7 separate regions of the Homo sapiens genome follow, and all the other regions are linked to region 1. The links are contacts of gene promoters, found by promoter capture Hi-C in blood cells and fetal thymus (Javierre and others, 2016). All regions are on one chromosome and are shown on one strand. Each heading gives the region's core, a stretch centred on a gene start or on the middle of the fragment in contact. The rest is flanking DNA. Distances are from core to core; before and after follow the strand shown.

Evidence for each region. The method cuts DNA at HindIII sites, captures the fragments that hold promoters and counts their contacts. A CHiCAGO score of 5 or more calls a contact.
Region 2: a fragment that was not itself captured here is called in contact with the fragment with the promoter of MMP8 in region 1 in 5 of 17 cell types (M0 macrophages, naive B cells, M2 macrophages and 2 more); the score reaches 5.8 in M0 macrophages.
Region 3: a contact is called between a fragment that was not itself captured here and the fragment with the promoter of MMP8 in region 1, in 4 of 17 cell types (M0 macrophages, M1 macrophages, monocytes and 1 more). The highest score is 17.6, in M0 macrophages.
Region 4: a contact is called between a fragment that was not itself captured here and the fragment with the promoter of MMP8 in region 1, in 4 of 17 cell types (M0 macrophages, M1 macrophages, M2 macrophages and 1 more). The highest score is 17.7, in M0 macrophages.
Region 5: a fragment that was not itself captured here is called in contact with the fragment with the promoter of MMP8 in region 1 in 4 of 17 cell types (M0 macrophages, M1 macrophages, monocytes and 1 more); the score reaches 12.6 in M0 macrophages.
Region 6: a fragment that was not itself captured here is called in contact with the fragment with the promoter of MMP8 in region 1 in 4 of 17 cell types (M0 macrophages, M1 macrophages, monocytes and 1 more); the score reaches 8.3 in M0 macrophages.
Region 7: a contact is called between a fragment that was not itself captured here and the fragment with the promoter of MMP8 in region 1, in 2 of 17 cell types (M0 macrophages and M1 macrophages). The highest score is 9.0, in M0 macrophages.

Annotation. Positions count from the first base shown.
Region 1 is chr11:102,723,111-102,726,795 of GRCh38, forward strand. It overlaps MMP8 (matrix metallopeptidase 8), which reads right to left and starts at 1,844. Exons shown (of 10, transcript NM_002424.3): 1 at 1,644-1,844. The coding sequence starts at 1,745. RefSeq lists an enhancer at 1,051-2,250. The HindIII fragment of the contact is 5,644 bases long and covers 1-3,685 here.
Region 2 is chr11:102,235,320-102,239,004 of GRCh38, forward strand. No RefSeq gene overlaps it. Among named protein-coding and RNA genes, the nearest start is that of BIRC3, 80 kb to the right of the region's middle. The HindIII fragment of the contact is 3,342 bases long and covers 81-3,422 here.
Region 3 is chr11:102,279,866-102,283,550 of GRCh38, forward strand. LOC105369460 (a long non-coding RNA gene) reads left to right here. Exons shown (of 5, transcript XR_007062863.1): 5 at 1-1,374. Among named protein-coding and RNA genes, the nearest start is that of BIRC3, 36 kb to the right of the region's middle. The HindIII fragment of the contact is 1,863 bases long and covers 780-2,642 here.
Region 4 is chr11:102,309,992-102,313,676 of GRCh38, forward strand. No RefSeq gene overlaps it. Among named protein-coding and RNA genes, the nearest start is that of BIRC3, 5.6 kb to the right of the region's middle. RefSeq lists an enhancer at 227-521. The HindIII fragment of the contact is 1,936 bases long and covers 807-2,742 here.
Region 5 is chr11:102,358,898-102,362,582 of GRCh38, forward strand. All of the region lies in intron 3 of BIRC2 (baculoviral IAP repeat containing 2), which reads left to right. Among named protein-coding and RNA genes, the nearest start is that of BIRC2, 14 kb to the left of the region's middle. RefSeq lists an enhancer at 2,554-2,603. The HindIII fragment of the contact is 5,897 bases long and covers 1-3,685 here.
Region 6 is chr11:103,075,207-103,078,891 of GRCh38, forward strand. The region is part of intron 4 of DCUN1D5 (defective in cullin neddylation 1 domain containing 5); the gene reads right to left. Among named protein-coding and RNA genes, the nearest start is that of DCUN1D5, 15 kb to the right of the region's middle. The HindIII fragment of the contact is 1,326 bases long and covers 1,272-2,597 here.
Region 7 is chr11:102,383,731-102,387,415 of GRCh38, forward strand. No RefSeq gene overlaps it. Among named protein-coding and RNA genes, the nearest start is that of BIRC2, 38 kb to the left of the region's middle. The HindIII fragment of the contact is 1,477 bases long and covers 976-2,452 here.

The DNA.
Region 1 (3,685 bases), core at 594-3,093:
GAATTTTCCAAGTGATGATTCAGATTTTAACTCACCATGTTGCCTCTCAAATGAGAACTGATAATTTCAAAATAATTTCAAATATCTTTTAGGGGAACAGCAATATCATTGATATTAGCATTTTATTCACCAAAGTAACTCTTTGGAAGTGTTAAATTTAGTCAAAATCCAAAGAGTTTAGCCTAAAAATTACCTATTTTAAGTTTGGCTTAAAAGTTTCTTCATACACAGTGAAATGTAACCTAACTAGACCTCATGCTGCCTGTGAACACCTGGCACCTTGTCAGTGTCTTAGTCCATTTTCTGTTGCTATAACAGAATATCTGAAGCTGGGTAACTTATACATAAAAGGGGCTGATTTTCTCTCACAATTCTGGAGGCTGGGAAGTCCAAGATCAGGTGGCTGCATCTGGTTGGCTTCTGAGATGGCCTTGTGCTGTGTCATAACATGGCAGAGAAACAAAAGGGGAGCAAGCATGTGTGAAAAGGGGCAAAACACAAAGGGCAGCCCCTCTTTATAATACCCATTCTATTAATTACTAATCCAGTTCTGCAAGAGCCAGAACCCACTCCAGCAAAAATTAATCCAGTCACACAAGAGTGTCATTAATCTTTCTTAATGACCTAAGTACTTCTTAAAGGACCCACTGTCACATGGGCTACTAAATCTTTAACACATAAATTCAAGGGACACACTCTAACCACAGCAGTAGGTGACACTGACCAGATCACACGCTTTGGAATCAGACAGGCCTGGGTTCAAATCTTAACTCTGCCATGAATTAACTGTGAGCACTTGGCCACATTATTTATCTGATTTAAGATATTTTTGTCTCTGAAATGAAAATAATAATGCTCCAATAAGGTTCTTGTGAGGATTAAATGAGATATTTGTGAAATGTGTAGCAGTTGCCTTGCATAGAATAAGCACTCAATGGACTTTACATTAACCCGGGGGTTACAATTAAGAGATAACCTCTTAATAATAATAATGCTTTCTCCAAACTATAATGCTAAGAAAACTGTGCATGAGAGATTTGTGACAGAATTCCCTTGTGTTTCTTAAAAATTTGGGTTCACTTTCAGACTGTGAAACAATGGAAAAAAACTATTGGTTCTGCTTTTATAATGCTTCCAAGAGTTTATAAACAGTCCACAATCTGATGCTGGGAAATATGATTTTACTGTGTACTGATTTCTAGTTCATTGTAATCTACCATCCTCACATTATTTTCTATATCTGGAATTTTTGGCGGCAAAGAAAATGCCTGTATGGAAGCACCAGACATATAGTAACTTGATTGCAGATATCCTGGAAGGAAAAACCTTAGGTAAATGAGAAAGAAAATGATACCATTTTATAAATAAAACCATTTCTTCTACAAAAGTTTCCCAACTAGGGGTAACTCTACAGCAGTATTTTCCCAGCCTTTAAAGAATTCAGCTTGTTTTCATGTCCGGCTTTTAAAAGGCCTAGTCCTTACCAGCTTGGAACCCTCCAAATCACTAAAAGGAGATGTTCAATCTCAAACTAATCACCCAAATAATTTCTTTCAGGCTGTTTTAATTAACAAGAGAAAACAACCCACACTATTTCCTAATAATCAGCAAATCAAACATCACCTAACTGATAGTTCATTTACCTGAACAGTTTTTGTATTTTTCTCTTTAGAAGATACAGGAAAGGCCTTGGAAATCTGCACATGGAGTAAGAGCAGAAATGGAAGCGTCTTCAGGGAGAACATGATCTTCTCTTCAAACTCTACCCCTCCTGGCTTTCTTTCTGTCCCTCTGGGTAGGGCCCTTCCCTGGCGAGCACCCTGACGTTCACAGCATCATGTGTCACTCACAGCTCTCTTGCAGTCCTCTTTAAAGCCATGTCTTAAACAATTGCTGCATCAGGAATATGAAGCAACATAGGTTAATTACACTCTGACAGTTTTGCAATTTTATAATGTGATTTAGTACCCCCAAATGGGGGAGTCTTTCAACAGTCTTTCAAAACTCCAACTTTCTACTCTTTGCTTTTGGATGTTTTAGTTATTTCCTTTTACAAAATTGGTTGAGGAAAAGGAACAAGGGACTAATCCTGAAGTTATGTGGATACATTTTTTGACTATGTAAGATGTTGAGGTTGAATTAACTTATGCAGGGGAATATTTTGAGGTTTGTGGTAGATATCTTGGGACCAAGGAGCCCAACTAGAGAATCTCTGTACTTACCCTCCCTCATTGTATGTGGAGAGAATGAGTGACTGTGTTATTACAAAGCAGGCTTTGTATGGGGCCTAGAGCTGCTTCTGGAGGATGTGGTTTGGTATCAACATATTAGAAAATCCCTAGTCTATAAGTTAGACTTTCCATGGAAAAGATAAAGAGAACAATACTGATGATGATAATAATGAACATTTGCTAAAAAATTATGATTGCCCAGACATTTGTACTGTGTTCCACATATTACCCCAATCCATCTTCACATAGCCTTGGGAGGGAGATGCTATTACTATCTCCATTTTACAGATGAAATCAAATCCAGAGACATTTAGATGACCTGTTTAAGTCACATGTTTCATTTGTGGAGGGGCCAGGATTCAACCCCAGAGGGTATGTTTAGAGAGACTGAGCTGGGAGCTACTATAAGCTCTGCATGGTAGTCTCCCACTTGAGTCTCTGGCTGGGCCATAGTGGAGCAGCAGCTCTAGGCCTTCAACAGCTGGATACTTTGGCTTATATTCACAGGCAGAAGACAAGGGAGAGGGAGAATGAGATGTTGTACATCTTCAAGGAGTAAGACACTGAGAGATTTCCAGACAATATGGCTACATAGGAGACTGTTTGTCAGAGGCCCCTGGGCATGCTTTTCAAATCATGTAACCTGGTCCCACTTATTCTGAGTCCACATGCATGTAGTTTGTTATCATACACAGTCTTTGTGAATACTCATTTACATATATGCATACATATTTGGTAAAGGCAGGTATTCTTGTGTATAAATGCATGTGTCTACATGTATGATACATAGCATGTATTAATATGTAAAGAGTGTATTTGAGATGCTATGATAAGGAGTTCTGATCTTTCCTGAGGTCACTTAGGAACTTTGAAAATGATCCAAAGAAAGGTGTCTTGGGTTAGAACATATCTGGACAGCAGATTAATGTTAATGATGTATATTCCTACATTCATTCAGTAAACATTTCCTGTCATCTACTACATGCCACATGCTGTGATGGGTGCTAGAGTATTGGAGATAAATTAATAGAGGTTTGGATAAAATGCTGTGGGTGTTTGGAGGAAACAGCAGTGGTGTGGAGGGAGTGAAATCAAGGAAGGTTTCATGAGGGAGGTGGAATTTGAACCGGATCATGAAGAGGTAGAATGTAGACATGCAGAGATGTAGCAACCCATTCTTTGTATTAATATAAATGTGACAGCTTCCTGCCAAATTGTTCAAAGATCACGGTCATGTTCATCCTCCTTGAGTTCATGGCTTAATGTGGCTTTCTTTACATTAGGTCTTTGGTGAAAAAATGCTTTTTCCTCCACGAAAATGCCTTAACATTGGTCTAACTCTATGTTGAGTTATTTTGATGCAATGGCTTGCTTACAAGGTTTATAAATGTACTTTCTTCTGAACATAACAGCAAGTGATTTAGTTGAGAATCTAAAACTTCGGTAAACTTAGT
Region 2 (3,685 bases), core at 502-3,001, 490 kb before region 1:
CATCCCTATTCAACTTTAAACTGTTGGCACTTAGTCTTTTTTAGCCATGAGAACTTTGTGATAAATCTTTTTTGATTTAAAGCTTAACTACTAAATTAAAATTCAGATGAGAAGTCGGTGACATTTAGTACTACAGTTTTTCCAAGTCACACATAAAATATGTTTTGCTACCTTGAACACAAAAAGCTCTGACATAGGTAAAATGGATAATTTCTTAACCATAAACATAGCCTTAATACTGCCACAAATGAAAACAGTTGCAGAATCAAGACATGAGCAAAACAAAATGACACTGAAAAGGTATTCTGAATTAAAGTCTGCCGTATTTTAACAAAAAACAAAACTCCCAAAGTGACCTGACTTACAAGCTGCTATGATCCTGTTAGAAACAAAAAACCTAGTATCTTTGCCACTGAAAGCAATTATTTGGAGACCTCTTAGCAAAGGGTCTACTTCTGTAAAATTTTTGAACACCTAGTCTAGTTAACTTAAAAACAAACTTTAACTGTTAAAGAAACAAGAACTAGAGGTACTGTAACTTTGTGAAATTGGTATTGGTTTGCACTCAGTTAGTGGACAGGGCTTGATTTTTTTGTAAAAGGAACTTGTAAAAACTTCTTAGGGTTGTGACATACCTTTCCCCACGTTTCCTTACATCTTGTCCCAGGTATATTTTTGTGGAATTATAGTTCCCACGACCTTCATAGAATCTATATAAAATATGAGTTAAACTTCACATTTGGTTGTAATTTTACTTGGGATATTATTAGAAGCCACATCTCAGTTCTTTTTTTTTTTTTTTTTCTTTTTTTGAGACGGGGTCTCGCTCTGTCACCCAGGCTGGAGTGCAGTGCCGCAATGTCAGCTCACAGCAACCTCCACTTCCTGGGCTCAAGCAGTTCTCGTGCCTCAGCCTCCCAAGCAGCTTGCGCCACCCACCCAGCTAATTTTTGTATTTTTTGTAGAGACGTGGGGTTTCACCATGTTGTCCAGGCTGGTCTCAAACTCCTGAGCTCAAGTAATCAATCTGCCCACCTCCACCTTCCAAAGTGCTGGGATTACAGGCCTGAGCCACCACGCCGTGCCCCACATCTCAGTTCCTTTTAAAGCATTTGTTCTGTTTCAAATCGGGTTTTTATGTTACAGTGGATTTACACAATTAAAATGATAGCATATCTGGCAAACTTGAACTAATTTTCTCAAGGATCTGGATTAAATGGCAGGATCTGAGAGAAAATCTCCTGTCTATCAGTGCTATCACCAAGAGCTACTGAAGCCAGCTACTCAAAGCTGAGCTTCACTAGTGATGCAGCCATTGGGAAACCTAGCTAAAGACACTTCCTCCTCCTTCAGGGAACCTCTCAGCAACTTGTATTTGGCACTTTTTTCTACTGAATAAGAGGTAAAGCCTGGCACGGTGGCTCACGCCTGTAATCCCAGCAATTTGGGAGGCCAAGGCAGGCAGGTTACCTGAGGTCAGGAGTTCAGGACCAGCCTGGACAACATGGTGAGACCCCGTATCTACTAAAAATACAAAAATTCGTTGGCTGCGGTGGCAGGCAGCTGTAATTCCAGCAACTGGGGAGGCTGAGGCACGGAGAATTGCTTGAACCCAGGAGGCGGAGGTTGCAGTGAGCTGAGATCGCGCCACTGCATTCCAGCCTGGGCAACAGAGCGAGACTCTGTCTCAGGGGGAAAAAAAAAAAAGGAAGAGGAGGTAAACACATCTGCAGGCAGAGTTCAGCAGAGGCATCTGCCTCATGGGCTGTAGCCCAGTGGATTCTAAATGATACTAGGATCACAACTAGATAAGACTGATCACTTGGATGACCGTGAATTAAGACCTTAGATTTTATAAGAGATACAATGGCTCATATTCAGGGACAGCCAGACTGTTAGGTAATTTGAAGTCACACCACAAAAACCACATGTGCATCATCTTCCAAAAGGAGGCCATTTGCTGAGGTGTTTTGTCTCTGAGCACTAGTAAGTCTGTTGAGCCCTGTAAAATAATCCCAAATGGGACTGCCCAGTGAAGAATGTGGACTTGAGATTTAGTTGTTCTTTTACAGTCCAAATCATTGAAAGACAGCATAGCTTTTCTGTATTCTAGGCCAAAGGAATTTCTGTGGAATTCTGCTATGGGAGTTTCAGAAAACCAGCCTAAGCCCATTTAGTGTCATTCAGAAAACAGCTGATGCTTCATTGAGGGGCAGCGGGCGGGGATGGGGGTGACGGGTGCTTAACAGCCAACTCACAGCTCACCTTCGAGGCCACATCTTTATCTGGAATGCAGTGGCAAACCCTACCCCAAATTCAGGATGTTGCTGAGGAAATTTTCCACTGATTTGAGCTAAAACTTTGACTAAATCCCTATCAGTCTTCCAAAATCACTGAAGAAAAATTCTCAATACCTGAACATCTCCAGTGTTCTCATAGTTTTGTTGTTCTATCCTGGTCACTATGACAAATTTGAAAGGCAGATTATTCCAATTAAGTTGGTGTCCCACTGCCATCACTTACTGTGGGATTTGGAGTCTCTCAGACTTTTTCTCCATCAGGGGTAAAGTGAACGTACTACAATTTGCACTATCTCAAGACACTGATAAAGAAGATCAAAGTGTTATAAAAGCAACTGGTAAACCGTTAACATTCCTTAAAAGTGATACTGTATTTTAAAATCACTATGACCTTTTCTCAATATCATCTTGTTTAAAGACATAGTATTATTGAATAATTCAAAATAGTCCTTCAAACTTGAGTAGGTCTACCCAGGGCATCTGCATAAGTACATGAGGCTCTGTCTTGTTCTGTCATTAAGATGCACACCATCTTCAATTTTATAAGTATGCTATTTGTTTTTCAGTATTTTAATATTCTGTAATTACTGAGATGCTCCCACATATGATCTCCTTGTTTGGTCATACCAAGATCAAATAAGACATAATTATTACAATTCCTAATTGTGTGCCTCAAACCTAGGTTTAAATCCCACACTATGGCTGTGAGATGACTAGAAGTTGAGGGGGTAGCCCATAACTGGAAAATGCTTTCTGTATACAAGGCTAACCGTATTCCCTGGGGCTCAAAATTGTCTTCTCAGTTATGAGCTTCCCTACCTCTGGCCCCACTGCAGGTAGGACTTTGCTCTCCACACAGAGGGAATCCTAGGAAAATTGCCACAACAATAGGACAATGCTGTAACAGGTTAGATCTTCCATCCATTTTAAAAAATCATGTACATTTGCTCAACAAACACACTTGGAACATATTCCAACTTGAGTAATAAGTGGCATGGTAACTTCCTCAGGGAGCTTACCAAGAGTAAAGGTAAGACTGTTAAGTGCTGAAGTTAGTTCACACAATGTAGTGAGAGAGCACAGTCTATGGGAAGATTACTTCCTCCTAGGATGATCAGGGAAAGCTTGTACAGGTTCTATTTAAGCTGGGCATTGAGTGGTTATGACTAACCCAACAGAAGTGGTCAGTGGCAGAGAAAGCACTAGGTAAGGAAAACTAAGAATAGTTGGAGGAATGGGAAGTGTATTAGTCCATTCTCACACTGCTATACAGATACTACTTGAGACCGGTAATTTACAAGCAAAAGAGATTTAATTGACTCACAGTTCTGCACGGCTGGGGAGGCCTCTGGAATTGGAAACTTACAGTCATGGCAGAAGGTGAA
Region 3 (3,685 bases), core at 461-2,960, 440 kb before region 1:
GGCATAAAGAGCAAAGTTTCAGAGATCACATCCTCTAGTGGAGAGCAAATGAACAAAAGGGGAAAGAGAGACGCGATGAATTGCACGTGCGCTATTATATTTGCAAGCGGGTTACATTGTCCTTGGATAAGAATTTTATATTCCCCGTGAGTCGGAGACTCTGTGCTCTGAATTATGTTGCTCAATTCAAGCGATGATCCAAGGCCAATGACAGTATACCAAGCTATCATTTCTTGGCAGGTCGAATAGTCATGTGTATATTTTATGTTCCTTATAAAAGTTAGGCGATATAAATATTGGTGATATGAAAGTTGATATTTTACATAAATTGTCAATTGCTAGTCAAACACGTCAAGGTTTTTTCTTTATGTGGTGGGGCTTTAAAATCTCAGCAGGGAGTTCTTTGAGTTTGAAGTGTCTCCCCTAAGCTTTCCATTTCAGACACTGTTTTTTTCCAAAACAGGTCTCAGTGTGTTGGTGTTTCCAAAGTGCAGATGATTCCTGTTCTTATTTTGTGGCTGTTCTTGCAGAATGCTATCAGCCCCAGATCTAGGGTAGAGGACAGGCTTGATTGGAGCCTTTGCCTGTTACAATGCATGATTCCACCACAGGCCAGCTGTGACCATTCCGCCCAGTGACAGCGTGGTTGTCTTTCCTCATAGGTGAAGGAGGTGACTTCTTATGGGACATGATTTCTGAAGCAGAAGTTTACCTGAGGTTCCTGGAAGAAATGTTTTCCCCACCTGTTGGCTCCCTGAGTATTAACATGCCAGATGCAAAGCTTCATTCATTCTATTAAAATGCAAATGAGCCCAACAGTGTAGTAAAACAGTTTGCTGCTAGAAGTTATTTACAATATTCTAAGAGTAACGCTCTTATTCACCCTAAGCACAGGTTTTAATAAAAAGTGGAAGGGATCGCAAGGGTATTGAGATCTCAGCAAGAGAAGGAAAGGGAAAAGGTTGTTTAAAAACAACATTAATAGAAGACATACCGTATAGAGAGAAAAACGCAGACTGTGCATGTTCAAGATAACTTTCATTACAATTTTGCCTAAGCCAGGGTGAATGCAAATGTTTCAGTTTTAACAGACTGGATCATTCATTCAAAAAGCATTTATTGAGTGCCTTCTCAAAAAAGAATGATAATTAGATTTTTTAAGTTATAAAGAAAATATAAAACCAAAACTGGAGAAATATACGCCAACATTTTTCCAATGGTTCCGTTGTCAAAGTAGAATTAGAATGTAAGTGCAGAGTTAAATTCCATTGTCTATCAAGAAGTAATTGTAAAGGAGCTATGTCTAAAAATGTATCTTTTCAGTGATTTTTGTTCTGAACAATCTTCTGCCTCAAATACATTTTGGATCTATGATTTGCAACCACTTTTTTTTGGTGGGTCAAGATACCAGCACTGTAACTTTAAGAAGTTCATCATTAGCATGCATTTAAAAAAATGTACCAAGTTAAGAAAAAAATTGAATAAATGTACATCTGTCTAAAGCAGGGGTTAGCAGAGTACAGCCTGCAGGTCAAATCCAGTCTACTGCCTGTTTTGTTTTTGTTTTTGTTTTTGTTTTTGACTAGAATGTTAAGATACATTTTTAAATGGCTGCAAAAAAAAAAAATCAAAAGGATAACATTTCATGACATGTTAAAAATTGTCTTCAATTCAAATTTCAGGGGCTGGGTGTGGTGGCTCACACCTGTAATCCCAGTACTTTGGGAGGCCGAGGTGTGTGGATCACCTGAGGTCAGAAGTTCAAGACCAGCCTGGCCAACATGGCAAAATCCCGTCTCCACTAAAAATACAGAAAATTAGCAAGGCCGTGTGCAGTGGCTCACGCCTATAATCCCAGCACTTTGGGAGGCCAAGGAGGGTGGATCATGAGGTCAGGAGTTCGAGACTAGCCTGGCCAACATAGTGAAACTACATCTCTGATACAAACACAAAAATTAGCTGGGCATGATGGCTCACGCCTGTAGTCCCAGCTACTCAGGAGGCTGAGGCAGGAGAATTGCTTGAACCTGGGAGGTGGAAGTTGTGGTTAGCCGAGATCGCACCACTGCACTCCAGACTGGACAACAGAGCAAGACTCCATCTCAAAAACAAAACAAAACAAAAACAATAAAAACAAATCAACAAATCCTGAAACCCTTCTTCCTAGCATTCCCTATCTACATTTTCTGCATTATTTAGCTTTATAGTATTTATCATTAACACAGCCTACATTTTACATATTTTTAAAAAATTGTATATCATTCCTTATTAGAATATTAATTAAATCCCAGGGATTTTTGTCTTTGTTTACTGTTGTATGCTGGAACCTAGAAGAGCATATGACTCCTATATATTGTAGTCGGTACTTGTTTGTTGTGTGTGTTAGTGGCTGAGCCAGGGCTTGTTGCAGACCTGCTTCCATGGTCAGGGAAGCTGGCAAGGTAATGGAATGAATGTGAGACTTTAACATCATATGTGTTTGGGTTCAGATTCTAATCCCAGCCTTTAGTAACTGTTGCAATTTGGAGTAGATTTCACCCAGATATCGGTGATATAAACAAGGAAAATGTTTATTCTTATTATTCTTTTGTGATAAAGAGGTCCAGCATTGATAGAGCAACTCCACAGTCATCAGGGACCCAAGCTTGTTCCACACCCCTTAGTATATGGTTTCCAATGGCCAGGCATGGTGGCTCACGCCTGTAATCCCAGCAGTGGGAGGCTGAGGCTAGAGGATTGCTTGAGCCTGGGAGTTCAGGACCAGCCTGGACAACATAGCAAGACCCCATCTCTACAAAATTAAAAAGAAAATTAGGCCGGGCACATTGGCTCACACCTGTAATCCCAGCACTTTGGGAGGCTGAGGCAGGTGGATCACCTGAGGTCAGGAGTTCGAGACCAGCCTGGCCAACATGGTGAAAACCTGTCTCTACTGAAAATATGAAAAATTAGCTGGGCTTGGTGACGGGCACCTGTAATCCCAGCTACTTGGGAGGCTGAGGCAGAATAACCGTTTGAACCTGGGAGGCGGAGGTTGCAGTGAGCCGAGATCGCGCCATTGCTCAAGAGTGAAACTCCGTCTCAAAAAAAAAAAAAAGAAAAAAAGTAGCCAGTAGTGATGACGCAAGCCTGTAGTCCTAGGTACTCGGAAGGCTCAGGTGGGGGATTGCCTGAGCCCAGGTGGTCAAAGCTGCAGTGAGCTGTGATCATGCCACTGCACTCCAGCCTGGATGACAGTGAGACCTTGTATGAAAAAAAAATAGAATATGGTTTCCATTCTCAAGTTTTTTCCTGACTATGGGAGCTCAGTCATGATGTCTGTGTTGGGGTGGGAGAAAAAACTCAGTTTCCTCTATTTAGTCTTCCCAGTGACTTCTGCTTCTCTCTCAGTGACTATGAGTAGGCTGAAAAATGTAGTAATTAGGGTGAGCATATTGCCAACCCAAATAAAACTTTTCTCTGTTGGTAAGAAAAAAGGAAAGGGTGGCTATTAATAGGTAGATGACTAGTAGGCACTGACATAGTAGCTGCCTAACTTGGGCAAATTACTTAATGATATCTACCTTGTGGATTGTATTAGATTTCCAGGGCTGCCATGGCAAATTACTACAAATTGCGTAGTTTAAAATAATAGAAATTTATTCTCTCACAGTTTAGGAGGCCAGAAATCCAAAATCAAGGAATC
Region 4 (3,685 bases), core at 525-3,024, 410 kb before region 1:
GTCTGGGACAGTCAAAGGAGAGCCCAGGTCCGCCGAGCTGCCCGACTCCACAGGAAAACCATTTTTCTTCTGGCTCCCCCATCTGCTGAGAGCTATTTCCAGTCAATAAACCCTTGCACTCATTCTCCAAACCCACGTGTAATCCTATTCTTCTGGAACACCAAAGCAAGAACCCTGAGATACAGAAAGCCCTCTGTCTTTGCGATAAGCCAGGGGTCTAATTGAGCTAACGTAAGCCGCCTATGGATGGCTAAACTAAAAGAGCACCCTGTAACACACGCCCACTGGGCCTTCAGCTTGAACATTCACCCCTAGACACTGCAGTGGTGTCAGAGCCCCACAGCCTGCCCGTCTGCATGCGCCCCCTAGAGGTTTGAGCAGCAGGGCACTGAAGAAGTGAGCCATTCCGTCTGTCGCAAGCCCTGCGAGGGGGACAAGGGAACTTTTTCCATTTATTTTATTTATGTATTTATTTATTTTTGAGACGGAATCTCGCTCTGTCACCCAGGCTGGGGTGTAGTGGGGCGATCTCAGCTCACTGCAACCTCCACCTCCCGGGTTCAAGCGATTCTTCTGCCTCAGCCTCCCGAGTAGCTGGGACTACAGGCGCACGCCACCACGTCTGGCTAATTTTTGTATTTTTAGTAGAGACGGGGTTTCACCATATTGGCCAGGCTGGTCTCCAACTCCTGACCTCGTGATCCACCTGCCTTGGGCTCCCAAAGTGCTGGGATTACGGGCATGAACCACCGCGCCCAGCCCTTTTTACATTTCAATAGTCCTAAATAGAAAAGTGAATATCACAAAGCTTCTAAAAGAAAATATAGAAGAAAATCTTCATAATCTTGGGATAGGCAAAGCGTTCTTAAACATGATATAAAACACACTGAACTTAAAAATATTATAAGTTGGACTTCATGGAATTAAAATATTCTACTTATCAAAAGAAACTATTAATGAAGCGTAAAGACAAGCTACAAATGGGGAGAAACTGTTCACAGTGCACATGTCAATGACAGGACTCAACCCAGGGTATATAAGGAATTCCCTGAAGTCAATCAATTCAATTTAAAAATTGGAGGAAGATTTGAACAGGCACCTCACAAAATATGATATCTAAAGTGTCGAGAAGCATATGGAAATATAGTCAACATCATTAATCAACAGGGATAGAAAAAAGCATAATGGGATGCCACCACATACCCAAAAGAAGAGCTAAACTTAAAAAGGCTCACAATACTAAGCCTTGGGAAAGATGTGTAGCAACTAGAACTCTTATACACTGCTGGTGAGAGTGTAAAATGGTGCAAAGACTTTGTAAAACTTTCGGCAATTTCTAATAAAAATAAAACATACACCTACCCAATGGCAATTCCGTATCCAGGTATTTAGCCAACAGGAAGAATTCATAGGTTCACCAAAAGAAAAACTAAAATGGGCTGGGCACAATGGCTGGGCACACCTGTAATCCTAGTACTTTGGGAGGCTGAGTTGGGCGGATCACTTGAGCTTGAGCTCAGAAGTTTGAGACCAGCCTGGACAACATAGTGAGACCTCATCTATATTATTAAAGAAAAAAAAATCTAAAATGTTTATAGGTTCTGGGCTGGGCATGGTAGCTCATGCCTGTAATCCTAGCACTTTTGGAGGCCAAGGCGGGCAGGTCACCTGAGCTCAGGACTTTAAGACCAGCCTGGGCAACATGGTGAAACCCCATCTCTACTAAAAGTACAAAAAATTAGCTGGGCATGGTGACTCGAGCCTGTAGTCCCAGCTACCGAGGAGGCTGAGGCACGAGAATCACTTGAACCTGGGAGGTGGAGGTTGCAGTGAGCTGAGATGGCACCACTGCACTCTACCTTGGGCAAAAAAGTGAGACTCTGTCTCAAAAAAAAAAAGTTTATAAGTTCTTTTCACAAGGGATTGAACCAGGCAACAACACAAATGTACATTAGCAGGAAAACAGAAAAAGAAACTATGGTAGGCCAGGCGCGGTGGCTCATGCCTGTAATCCCTGCACTTTGGGAGGCCAAGGCAGGTGGATCACCTGGGGTCAGGAGTTCAAGACTAGCCTGGCCAACATGATGAAACCCCATCTCTATTAAAAATACAAAAAATTAGCTGGGCGTGGTGGTGCACACCTGTAATCCCAGCAACTCAAGAGGCTGAGGCAGGAGAATCGCTTGAACCCGGGAGGTGGAAGTTGCAGTGAGCTGAGATCTCGCCACTGCACTTCAGCCTAGCCAACAAGAGCAAAACTCAGTCTCAAAATAAAAGAAACTATGGTATATTTATACAGTGGAATACTACTATGCAATAAAAAGAACAAATTACTGATACATGTTACAATATTGATGAAACTAAGAAATATGTTGAGTGAAGGAAGCCAGTATGAGTACACATCATATGATTTCATTTGTATGAAGTTCAAGGACAAACAAATGAGATCTAGGGTGATAAATCATAATAGTGATTGTGGGAGGGGGAGGGGTGGTGGGGGCATTATAGCTTGGTACTGACTGCAAAAGAGCATGAAAGAATTTTCTGAGGTAATGGAAGGTGTTCTTGATCTTGATCTGGTTGATAGTTAACTGAGTACATTCATTTGTCAAAATCATAAAGCTATACGCTTTTAATATCTGTGTACTTTACATGATATAAATTATATTTTATTAGAGTACTATCAGTATAAAATAAAGTAAGCCACCATTTATGAGGGGTAAACTTCATTATCTTGACTAAAGCTTTACATTAGAGGAGGTTTCTTTGTAAATTTGATCTTCGTTAGCACTTATTCAAGGCTGGTGTAATTGTATTTTATTTGCAAGATGTTAGAAAGTTATCAACAGACCAGGAAATTGTCAACATTTACAAGGACTCTCAGATTTGCTTTGGAATTAGAACAGTATGTTCCCTGTAAGATTTCACTTTCACTTTCAGTTCTAGATTCCTGGGTTTCTTTATACATAAAAATCTAAAAACTTACAGTGAAAAAGCATTAGGCTACAACTAAAGTTGTTACAACATTATGCGAAATTCCCTCCAGAGAAAAAATATTTTTAATAATAATTCCCCCAAGGGAAAAATACTTTTAAATTGATTATTTGATAATAGGATATTGAGAGCATACCGCTCTCAGGAATTGTCAGAGTTCTGAGCCAGGAATGGGATGAAAAACTCTGTCATTCATACCTTGCTCATACACTGACAGTAGAAAAAAACTGGAAAACCAAGAGGCCAAGTGTGGTGGCTCATGTCTATAATCCCAGCACTTTGGGAGGTCAAGGCAGATAGATGACTTGAGCCCAAGAGGCCAGCCAGGGCAACATCGCAAGGCTCTGTCTCTATAAAAAATACAAAAATTAGCCAAGCATGGTAGCCCGTGACTGTAGTCAGAACTACTCAGGAGGCTGAGATGGGAGGATTGATTGAGCCCAGTAGGTTGAGGTTATAGTGAGCTGAGATTGTGCCACCGCATTTCAGCCTGGGTGACATTTCAGCCTGAGAACAAGGCTCTGTCTCAAAAAAATAAAAATGAGAAAACAACAACAAAAAAACCACAAACAAACCTAGAAAACTGAAGATAGTAATGGCTATACAGTTTGTGTCTAGCTTTCACTTTCCTCAAAGGTTTCCTTGTGTATTTCTGTCGTGAAAAGAGTATTTGGAGCTTGGAATTCACTGG
Region 5 (3,685 bases), core at 495-2,994, 360 kb before region 1:
TTTTCTTTATCCATTCAGCTGCTCTTTATCTTTTGATAGGAGAATTTGGCCCATTTACATTCAAGGTAACTATTGATGGGTAAAGACTTCTGTCATTTTGTAATTGTTTTCTGATTGTTTGGCAGATTATTTGTTTCTTCCTCTCTTGCTGTCTTCCCTTGTGTTTAGATGATTTTCTGTGGTGGTATGCTTTGATTCCTTTATATCTTTTGTGCATCTACTATTGGTTTCTACTTTGTGGCTATCATGAGGTTTACATAGAACATCTTATAGTTATAGTAGTCTGTTTCAAGCACTAACAACTTAATTTCAATTGCATTAAAAAACTGTACTGTTACTCAGACCCTCCTGCACATATTTTATGTTTTTGATGTCATTATTTGCATTTTATATTGTGTATTCATGAAAAAATTATTGAAGCTATAGTTATTTTTAATACTTTTTTTTAAAAACCTGTATTTTAGAATTAAGTAATTTACACATGACCATTACAAATTTAGTATATTATTAATTTGATTATATATTTATCTTAACAGTGAGTTTCATACTTTCATATGTTTCCATGTTGCTAATTAGTGTCCTTTCATTTCAGCTTGGAGAACTCTTCAGCGTTTCTTGTAAGGCGCGTCCAGTGGTGATAAACTCCCTCAGCTTTTGTTTGTCTGGGACTGTTTATATCTCTTTCATTTCTGAAGGACAGCTTTGCTGGGATACATATTCTTGTCTGGTAGTTTTGTCTTTCAGCACTTTGAATATATCATCCAACTCTCTCCTGGCCTACAAGGTTTTTGCAGAGAAATCCACTTGTGGTCTTATAGGGTTTCTCTTGTAGAAGATGAGTTTCTTTTCTGTTACAGTTTTAAAATTCTCTTTCATCTTCTATTTTTGCCAGTTCATTATAATGTGTGTCAGTGAAGTCTTCTTTGGGTTGAATCTTTATGGGGTCCTATGAACTTCCTGTACCTGGATATCTTTCCCTAGATTTATGAAGTTTTCAGCATTTTTTTTTTAAATCAGCTTTCTGTCCTTTCTCTCTTTTCCTTCTTGAATTCTCGGGTTTGTTTTTCATTTTCTTGGGTTTTTTTTTTTGATGGTGTCTTGTTCTGTCACCCAGGCTGGAGTGCAGTGGCATGATCTCAGCTCACTGCAACCTCCACCTCCCAGGTTCAAGTGATTCTCCTGCCTCAGCCTCCCACGTAGCTGGGACTACAGGTGTGCACCACCATGCCCAGCTAATTTTTGTATTTTTAGTAGAGACGGGGTTTTGCCATGTTGGCCAGGCTGGTCTTGAACCCCTGACTTCATGTGATCCACCCGCCTCAACCTCCCAAAGTGCTGGATTACAGGTGTGAGCCATCGTGCCTGGCCTTGAATTCTTAAAATGCAAATATTGTTTTGCTTGATGGTGTCCTATAATTCAGGTAGGCTTTCTCCACTATTCTTTTTTTTTTCTTTTTTTCTCCTCTGACTAGATAATTTCACATGATCTGCCTTTGAGTTCACAGGTTCTTCTGCTTGATCAGGTCTGCTATTGATGCTCTCTATTGCATTTTTTGTTGTTATGTTCTTCAGCTCCCGAATTTGTTTCTTTTTATTATTCCTATCTCTGTGTTGAATTTCTCATTTGTTTGTATATATTTTTTTATTTCATTATCTGTGTTCTTTTGTAGCTCACTGAGTTTGCTTGAAACAATTATTTTGAATTCTTTATCTGTTAGTTCATAGATCTCCATTTCTTTGTGGGTGATTACTGGAAAATTACTGAGTTTCTTTGCTAATGTCACGTTTCTTTTTTTTTTTTTCTTTCTGTTTCTTGTGGCCTTGTGTTATCTGTGTATTTGATGGACGAATTACTTCTAGACATTACAGATTAGTGTGTTTTTTTTGTTTTTTTTTTTGTGGGCAAAGATCTTTGCCTGTGGGTGAGGGTGAGGGTGAGGGCGCCAGCCAGTAGGTGTGGTGGTTCTGGCTCTGTGGAAGGCCCAGCATTGTGAACTCCATGCAGCTCCATTAGCCCAGATCATTGTCAGTGAGGATTGCAGGGGTCCTCAACATCCAAGGCTGCAGGTATCCATACCAGCAGCAAGGCTTTTTTTAGTCTATAGTGGCAGAGGCTGCTGGGGACCTCTTCATCACTTTTTCTCCCATGGGAGACATTGTGGCCAAGGGGATTCTTCTTGGCACAGGTTCTGGCTTTGGGCTTGTTGTGTTGGTGGAGGTGGCAGCACTGATGTCTCTGATGGCGTGGACACCTGTGGAGCAGCTACAGAGCCAAGGTTTGGAGTGCAAGTGTTTGCAGAAAGACAGCGGGTCTTGGGTTCAGGATGTTGACTAGCCTGCAGCAGTGGTGCTTCTAGTGCCTCAGATGTGGGTGCACGTAGAGCAGCCTTTGAGTTGGGTGCGGAGTGCAGGTGTGCAGAGCAGCCAGAGAGCTGGGATCTGGAGAGTGTGTGATTAGAGCAGCCACAGAGCAAAGGTCTTACATGAAGGTACATGTGAAGCAGCTGTGGCTCTGGGGTCTGGGGCATATGTGGGGGTTAGGGGCTGCACTGTCTGGGCAGTGCAAGAGCTGCTTTTTTTCAGGGTGAGGAGTGCAGTAGTGTCTCCCTCTCCAGGGGGTTCACAGCAGCAATGGGTGCTGGTTACCTTAATGGTGAAAGCTGTCAGTGTCCTCTGCAAAGTAGGCTACTGGGGTTGGCATCAATGAACACTATAGGGTCCTTCACTGTGAAACCTGCAGGAAGTCTGTGGCTATCTTGAGGGTTATTGGAGGTCTCCAGGGACCTGCTCTGGGGAGGAGCCTAGCAGTCTTTGCCACTGAGGACTGTAATGGCACTCACCACATGACTGATACAGGTAGCCCTCACCCCTTGTTCTTAGCCATCTCCAGATGTCTCTGCTAAGCAGATCTCCCAGCAGTCCTTTCTGTGTGGTTATTCTCCCTTTTTTTTTTTTTTCCCTTTATTGCTGTAGGCTGATTGGGCTAGTGAGTTCTTCCAGAGCTGTATTTGTGTATAGCTGTCTGTTTGTTGTTTTTTGTGGGTGGAAGAAGGCTGATGTCTCCTAGTCTGCTGTCTTGCTGATGTCACTCTTGCAAACTTTCAGTCTGCGGCTTTTCATTTCTTTAACATTGTCTTTTGAAGAGCAGATGTTTTCAATTTTGATGATGTCAATTTATCAATTTTATCTTTTGTGGAATATGTTTTTGGTCTTTTGTCTAATAATTCTTTACCCAATGTAAAGACAAATAAAGACAAGGCTTTTTCCTAGAAGTTTTATTGTTTTTGGTTTTATATTTAGGTATATGATCCATTTTTACTATTTTTGCATATAATATGGGCATAGGTCAGTGTTCCTTTTTTTTAACATATGAATATTCTGTTGTATAGTATCATTTATTGAAGAAACAAAAGGAATAGAATAGATATAGATGGTATGTGAACTTCTTGGAACATCTTTGAGAAGCCCTATCAGTTTAAAAACAAATATTTGAGAAACACTGTCATATTATATATAGATAAAAATATTTGATTCCATATTTTTTGGAGGGAAGGTAGTGGATTCTGGCTCAAATGTAATGGAAGAGTGAACATTGAAGAAAAATGAGCAGTTATTGTATTGTGAAAGATCACATTTTAGGAATACTGAGTTAATAGTATCTGAAACTGTTAAGTAGTTCACTTTA
Region 6 (3,685 bases), core at 685-3,184, 350 kb after region 1:
ATGTGTCCTCTGTTCTCAACATGCATGACATGTCAACAACCAGACCCTAGGTGACTAGGAATAGGTAGGTTTCTTCAGGGTAAATGTCAGCTCCATAGATCTCTATGTAATCACCATCACTCATCATTTCTGGCCTCTGATTATTTTCCTTACAGGCAAGTCCAAGTGTACTTTTAAAAAGTTTTTTTTTTTTGAGATGGAGTCTCACTCTGTCGCCCAGGCTGGAGTGCAGAGGTGCAATCTCAGCTCACTGCAACCTACGCCTCCGGGGTTCAAGTGATTCTTCTGCCTCACCCTCCCGAGTAGCTGGGACTATAGGCGCATGCCACCATGCCCAGCTAATTTTTGTATTTTTAGTAGAGACGGGGTTTCACCAAGTCAGCAAGGCTAGTCTCAAACTCTTGACCTCATGATCTGCCCGCCTCAAACCCCAAAGTGCTGGGATTACAGGCGTGAGCCACCGGGCCTGGCCAAGATGTTTTTATATGTTATCCAGCATTTAAGCGTTTTACATGAGAAATGGTTTCTCCACACATTTAGTAGCCATATTGCCAGAAATGGAAATCAAAATTTGGATAAGTTAACCAGAATTCCTTATATATGAATGAATGCACAATATGCTTGATGAGGAAACAAGAAAAATTTATTCTTACTTATTAGAAATTCATTACCTACTATTTCACTAAGTGGTTTCTGTTAGTGCAAAAATTATTCATTATGTGAAAAATAATGCTTTAATGAAAGTTGACTTCTACCATGGGGATATGCAAAGCAAATTTCTCAGATTACATGCCACTATAATGTTTGAAAATATGGAGATGAAGTCTTCATAATGTGAGTCACATCTTTCATACAAAATCTCACACAGAATCTTAACAGGCTTGAGACTTAAGTGTTAAGGGGGCAAAGAAGATAAAGGATGCCTCCTGACATTCAAAGTTCTTTCTTTCCTTACCATCAGATTTAAAAAATCACTGTCATAGCATAACACAGGACCTGACATATAGCACTCCAAAAATATTTGTTAAATAAAAGTGTGACCACCAAAAATAAACCACAGGGTAGGTGATATATTTATTTAATTATATAATGTTTCAAAATTCCTATCTGGGAGAAACTTAGTGGTAAATGGTAGATCAAACAAAATCACAAAGCACATAGTGACTGAGAAGTCACTAAGGAGATAAGAATCCAAGATATTATAATATTTTCCAAATATTTTACATTTCATGGGTACACAAAGTTACTATCTTACTTATGTAATTTCAATAAGCTTAAGAAATAAAGTGAAGGGAAGAACAAATTTTCAAGTCAAACAGATTGGTTAAAATTCTAGCTTCTCTATTTCTGGTCATGTGGCTTTCAGCAAGTTACTAAACCGTTTTCAGCCTGTTTCCTCATTTTTAAAACGACGATAATAATTTAATAGGACAACTATATGGCAAGTTACTTAACCTTTTTCAGCCTCAGTTATCTGATTTTTAAAATGGTAACAATAATAATTTCATAGGACAACCATAAAGATTAAATGAGAATCCATGTGTTAAATGCTTAGCACAGTCCTTGATATGCTTCTTTTGAGGCAAATGGATTAAAAATCACCTACACTACACACCTTGGTAGAAACTACGTCATACCATTCCTAATGGTCTACTGTAAATCTTGAGCAGAGAAAGAATCCAACAGACTTTTTTGTAGTAAAAAAAGAATAGGCCAGCACGGTGGCTCACGCCTGTAATCCCAGTACTTTGGAAGGTCGAGGCGGGTGGATCACGAGGTCAGGAGATCAAGACCATCCCGGCTAACATGGTGAAACCCCGTCTCTACTAAAAATACAAAAAAAATTAGCTGGGTGTGGTGGCGGGTGCCTGTAGTCCCAGCTACTCAGGAGTCTGAAGCAGGGGAATGGCGTGAACCCGGGAGGCGGAGCTTGCAGTGAGCCGAGATCGCGCCACTGCACTCCAGCCTGGGAGACTGAGCAAGACGCCGTCTCAAATAAAAAAAAAAGAATAAGAGCACAAACCTCCATATTTATTAACAGTATCATGAAGACTGTGAACACATCTGGCAAAACCAACATACCGAAGCAGTTACTAACAGCAATACAATTTTTATATCGAATCTAGCTCCAAAATACTAACATCAATACCTCAGAAATTGGGAAGTTTAGAAAAAAGAATATTTCCTCCGAAATAAAAAGAAATGCATACTTAACTAGCGTACTATGGAAAGCAAGAGATAGTTTTCCAAATAACAACCAAATAAAACCACACAGATTTGAGGGAACACTGGCACAATACAATACACCATTCTCCAAGGCCACTGTAGTTAGAAAGAGAAGAAATGGGTATTAATTTCAACGTTAGGACTCGGAAATTAATTTCCTGGTATTGCTAAGCAACTGATTACAAAGGGAGGCTTTTGAACTTGTGTTTCATTAAAGACCTTTAAAGTGAGAAGAAAGTTTCATGCATGTATTAGATGTAAGTGAGGCTCTCTTCCTAATCCATAAGTCCCAGTGACTGTGCTGTGACACATTGATGTGTAACACGAAGAATTGTGTCACAAAGTTCTGGATTTAGAACTTCCTCTAAATAAGCTTTCTCAACCAGAACAATACCATCTACTTCTAGGGGTATTTGAAAATGTGCAGAGGGGCATTTTGAAATTGTCATAATGACCTTAAGAGAGAACAGAGGGAAAGGATGCTAATGGCAATTAGTAGTTGGGCCCCAAATGCTAAATGAATGACAGTCACATCACACACGATGGCATTTCATTTACTCTCCTCTTCCACCCCCACCAAAAAAAAAAATCATATAAATGTTCCCTATTCCCCTCTCGCTAAGACGGTCAAGCCATGCCATTCCTTTTACACTTCAAAGTCCGGGGCTCAATAGAGACTAGATTTACAAACTGCAACCTACCGGCAGGCAGCTTAATTACTATCACTGTTGTCAGATGCTCTTGTCTTGTCCTTTTCATTATCATAATCAAGTACGGTCCTCTTCAAAGGTCTATATTCAGTTTTCTCCACTGGTATAGTATTTCACCCTTGCTCCAACACCAGACTTTCAGCTAGCAGATATGAGAAAAGACCTCCACTCTAGTACACTATGCCAGAACAAAAACTCGCCAAGTATCCTTGAAACCTCGTATCTATAGACGAAGGAAGAGAAATTCCATAACCTCCTGAGAGCACATCAAATTTTTGTGTCTAGCAGTACATGTGCCTCTTAATGGGAACGAGGTCCATAGTTCTCATAAGACTCTCAAAAGAGACTGTGACTTTAAAATATTAAAAACAATTGCTCATTGAAAATTATCCCCCAAATCTTTTAAAATTCCTGTGCTTTAAAATCTCTGATGGTTTCCCAATATCTGTAACATAGATTTAAACTCTCTCAACGTATTAGCTAAAGCACTCTACAGTGAAGCCATCACTCAAAATATTAGAATTCAAAACCTATCCTGGCAATTTTTTTATGTACTTTACAATTTTAAGAAATCAAACTACTTCCTTCAAACATATGCTTTCCTTCCTCAAGGTCCTGCTCACAATTTCCCTCTTCTGAAACATTTTCCTGTATCCTCAACAAACAAAATCCTAATCATTCTTCATGTTCTAGTTCACAGGCCACACCTACATTTACCTACCTACTCAGCTGAAATTAACCTTACTCAT
Region 7 (3,685 bases), core at 464-2,963, 340 kb before region 1:
GTATTATTCACAAAGAACAATGTAGTGGCAGAATTGGATTTCCATATAAAAGGGGTTTGGGAAGGCAAGTTGTTTAGGCTTGAAGCCACATTCATAAAGCACCATTAGTATTTTGTTGAAGATTTTTGCATCTGTATTTGTAACGGATATTGGTTTCTAGTTTTTTGTGGTATGTTTGTCTAGATTTGGTATCAGGGTAATACTGGTCTCATAGAATGAGTTAGGAAGTGTTCCTTATCAGCTGATTTTTTTCCTTTTATATACCCTTGGGTGCAGAGAACTGGAGGTTCCTGGAAATTCCATTCCTGATCCCACAGCAGAGAAACAGGATAGAACAACATGTCCTGAGAGACCTTTTGATACATGCCTTCCTCTCAACTTTTTGAAGCAGCAGCACTAGCAGCAGAGAACAAGGAATAGAAGAAAAATAGAAAACGAACAGGTTTGAAGCGTGGTAAAAGTTCTGTGTAAAAGAGGTGGCACTTTACCTGGTTCTTAAAAAATTTTTTTTAAAGTGATTATGATTAATGTTTTAATAGAAAGGGGAAAAGTCTTTGAGTAGCTGGGAGGTGATAAATCTAGATATTTTTGCACAGAAAGGCCATCTTTTCCTGAGATGAGAAGGAAGAGGGTTAGGATGTGAAACAGGAAAAGTTCCCTTGTCCCCCTTGCAGAGCATGCGATGAGGGTGACTCGCTTCTTCAGTGCCCCGCTGCTCAAACCTCTAGGGGAGCATACCAATGGGCAGGCTGTAGGGCTCTGACCCTATGGCAGGGTCTAGGGGTGAATTTTTACAGCTGAAGCCCCAGTGGTCATGTGTTACAGGGTGCTCTTTTAGTTTAGCTGTCCGTAGGTGGCTCGTGTTAGCTCAGACCCCTGCCTTATCTCAAGGACAGAGGGCTTTCTGTATCCCAGGGTTCTTGCCTTGGTGTACCAGAAGAACTGAATCACACATGGGCTTGGAGAATGAGTGTAAGCTTTTGAGTGGAAGTAACTCTCAGCAGATGAGGGAGCCAGAAGGGAGATGGTTTTCCCCTGGAGTCTGGCCGCTCGGCGGTCCGGGCTCTCCTTCAACTGCCCCAGCCAAACTCTCCACCTCATTCCGCTGGTTGATGGCCTGCTGGTGTGCTGGCGTGCTCCCCTCAATGTCCTCTTGACGTCCAGCTGCTTGTGTGTTCCTCTGCTCATGTGCCCCCTCTCGACATCCAGCTGCCTGTTTGTCTGCCTGTGGCGGGATTGATAAGGAATCAGAGAGACCGATGGGGTTGAGGAGGATATTCATTATTTAGATGCATTGGCCTAGTCGGATTAACATCCAAAGGACTGAGCCCTGAACAAAGAGTTAAGTTACCTTTTAAGCATTTCTTGGGGTGGGGGGAGATCTCTTCAGGGGGAAGCATATTACAGAAGCGAGAAACAAAGACAGTTATTTAATTAATTGAGACATGCATTACATCATTTATTACTTTTCAAGGAAAAACATGTTTTATGACTTGAGTTTATCTGTCTATTGACCTTGCAGCTGCACAGCCAGAGAAACAGGGTCTTCACAATGCCTGGGAAAGGAGGAGAGATAAGGCTCACTAGCCACAGAAAAACAGGCAGTTAATTTTTAAAGGACTCCAGCTCTTTCTCTTTGTCTTTCTCAGGGGGAACTGGGTTTTCTTACATACAACTGAGTTTCTGCTTACACATTCCTTCATTTCTTTTAATTCCTGTTCCATGCCTGCTAGGGTCTCAGGGTTTTTATAGGCACAGGATGGGGCTGTGGCAGGCCAGGGTGGTCTTGGGAAATGCAACATTTGGGGAGGAAAACAAAAATGCCTGTCCTCACCTAGGTCCGTGGGGTTGGAACCCTAGCCAGGGACTGCGCCCTCTTCTACCCAGCACTTCCCTTCCCCACTTCCATATCATTTGAAGGGACCAAGCCCTTCCCTTTCCAGCACTTCCCTGGCCCCCTTCCGTATCAGATGGATGGGTATAGCTGCAGGAAAAGAGAAGGAAGCTGAGTTCTTTATGTTCACAATAGAAATCTTCCAGGTCTTAATCTTAGATTTCCAACTTGTCTTCCTCTTTTTTGTGAGGTTGTCAGCTGCTTATATCCGGAGATGTCTGTTAAATTGGGTTCTAACCTCTACTACAAGCCCACTAATCTGTATGATCACACAATAGCAGAGTAGGCATAAAATGTTTGTATTTATCAAATGTTTCATTTTAGTATGCATTATTTCTTCAGAAGTTGTTGGTTTCTCTGCACTCTCATACACAACATTTGCAAGGATCAAAAATAAACATTTATTTGAAGCATTTTCAGAGGATATAATGAAAACTGGTTTTGGCTATAAACATTTAATGAAAATGTAGATTGTATATACCATATATTGATTCCTTGCATAGAACAGAAATTTAGTTTTCCTATGAAATTAAATGCAATGAACCCATATGCAAAAGAAGCTTGATTCTGCTTTATAAAGTTCTAAATCAGGCAATACTAATCTATGGTGTTAAAAGTCAGTTGTTATCTAACAACTAGGGAAGAATGGTTGGGAATACCAGGGGCACTTCTGGAGTGCTGGTAATGTTCTAGTCTTTGACCTAAGCGGGAGTTAGATAGGTTTGTTCACTTTGTGATGATTCATTGTGCTATGTACTTTAAAAAAAAAAACTTTTAAAGTTGACAAAACTTTATTACATATTGTATAATATGTTTTGACATATGTATACCCTGTGGAATGGCTAAATGAAGAAAATTAACATACGCATTACCTCATTTTCTTTTGTGGTCAGAATACTTAAAATCTACTCTCAACAGTTTTCAAGTCTACATCATATTGTTGTTAACTATAGTCAGCATGATATTCAGTAGATCTCTTGAATGTAATCTTCCTGTCTAACTGAAACTTTATATCCTTTGATGAACTCCCAGTCCCCAGAGCCTCTGGTAACCACCATTATAGTCTCTGCTTCTATGAGTTCAACTTTTTTAGATTCCCATATCATAAGTGAGATCATGCAGTATTTGTCTTTCTGTGCCTGGCTTATTTCACTTAACATAATGCCCTCCAGGTTCATCCATGTTATCACAAATGACAGGGTTTCATTCTTTTCTAAGGCTAAATAGTTTTACATAGTGTATGTATACCACATTTTCTTTATATATTCATGAACATGGGAGTAGAGATATCTCTTCAACATGCTGATTTCAGATCTTTTAGGTAAATACCCATAAGTGGGACTGCTGGATAATATGGTAGTTCTATTTTTAATTTTTTGAGGAATCTCCATACTATAGTTTTGTTCCATAGTGAGTAGGTAAAGCTGAGGAGCTGTGAGGCCAAAGAAAGAGGCTGACAAATCCAGTTTCTCAGAAAGAAAATAGGAACTTACAAATAGAAGCCATGTCTCCAGTGACTGTAAGATGGTGGATCCCTGTACTGTTAGCCCCTAGACCCAGGGCTTTTCTATCATAAGGAATTTGCCTAAGGGCAAGATTTATGGTAAGTATGTGTTTATGAGAGCATCAAGACTGTTTTGACCTAAGGACAGGATTTACAGAAAGTAAGTGAAAGTGGAAACCTTAGAGGCATTCCCGGAACTGGGGTTAATCAGAAGTCAACATGGTGGATTAGCATCCAATATGGAGTTGTTTTAACCACCACAAGTTTCCCATAATGCCTATACTAAT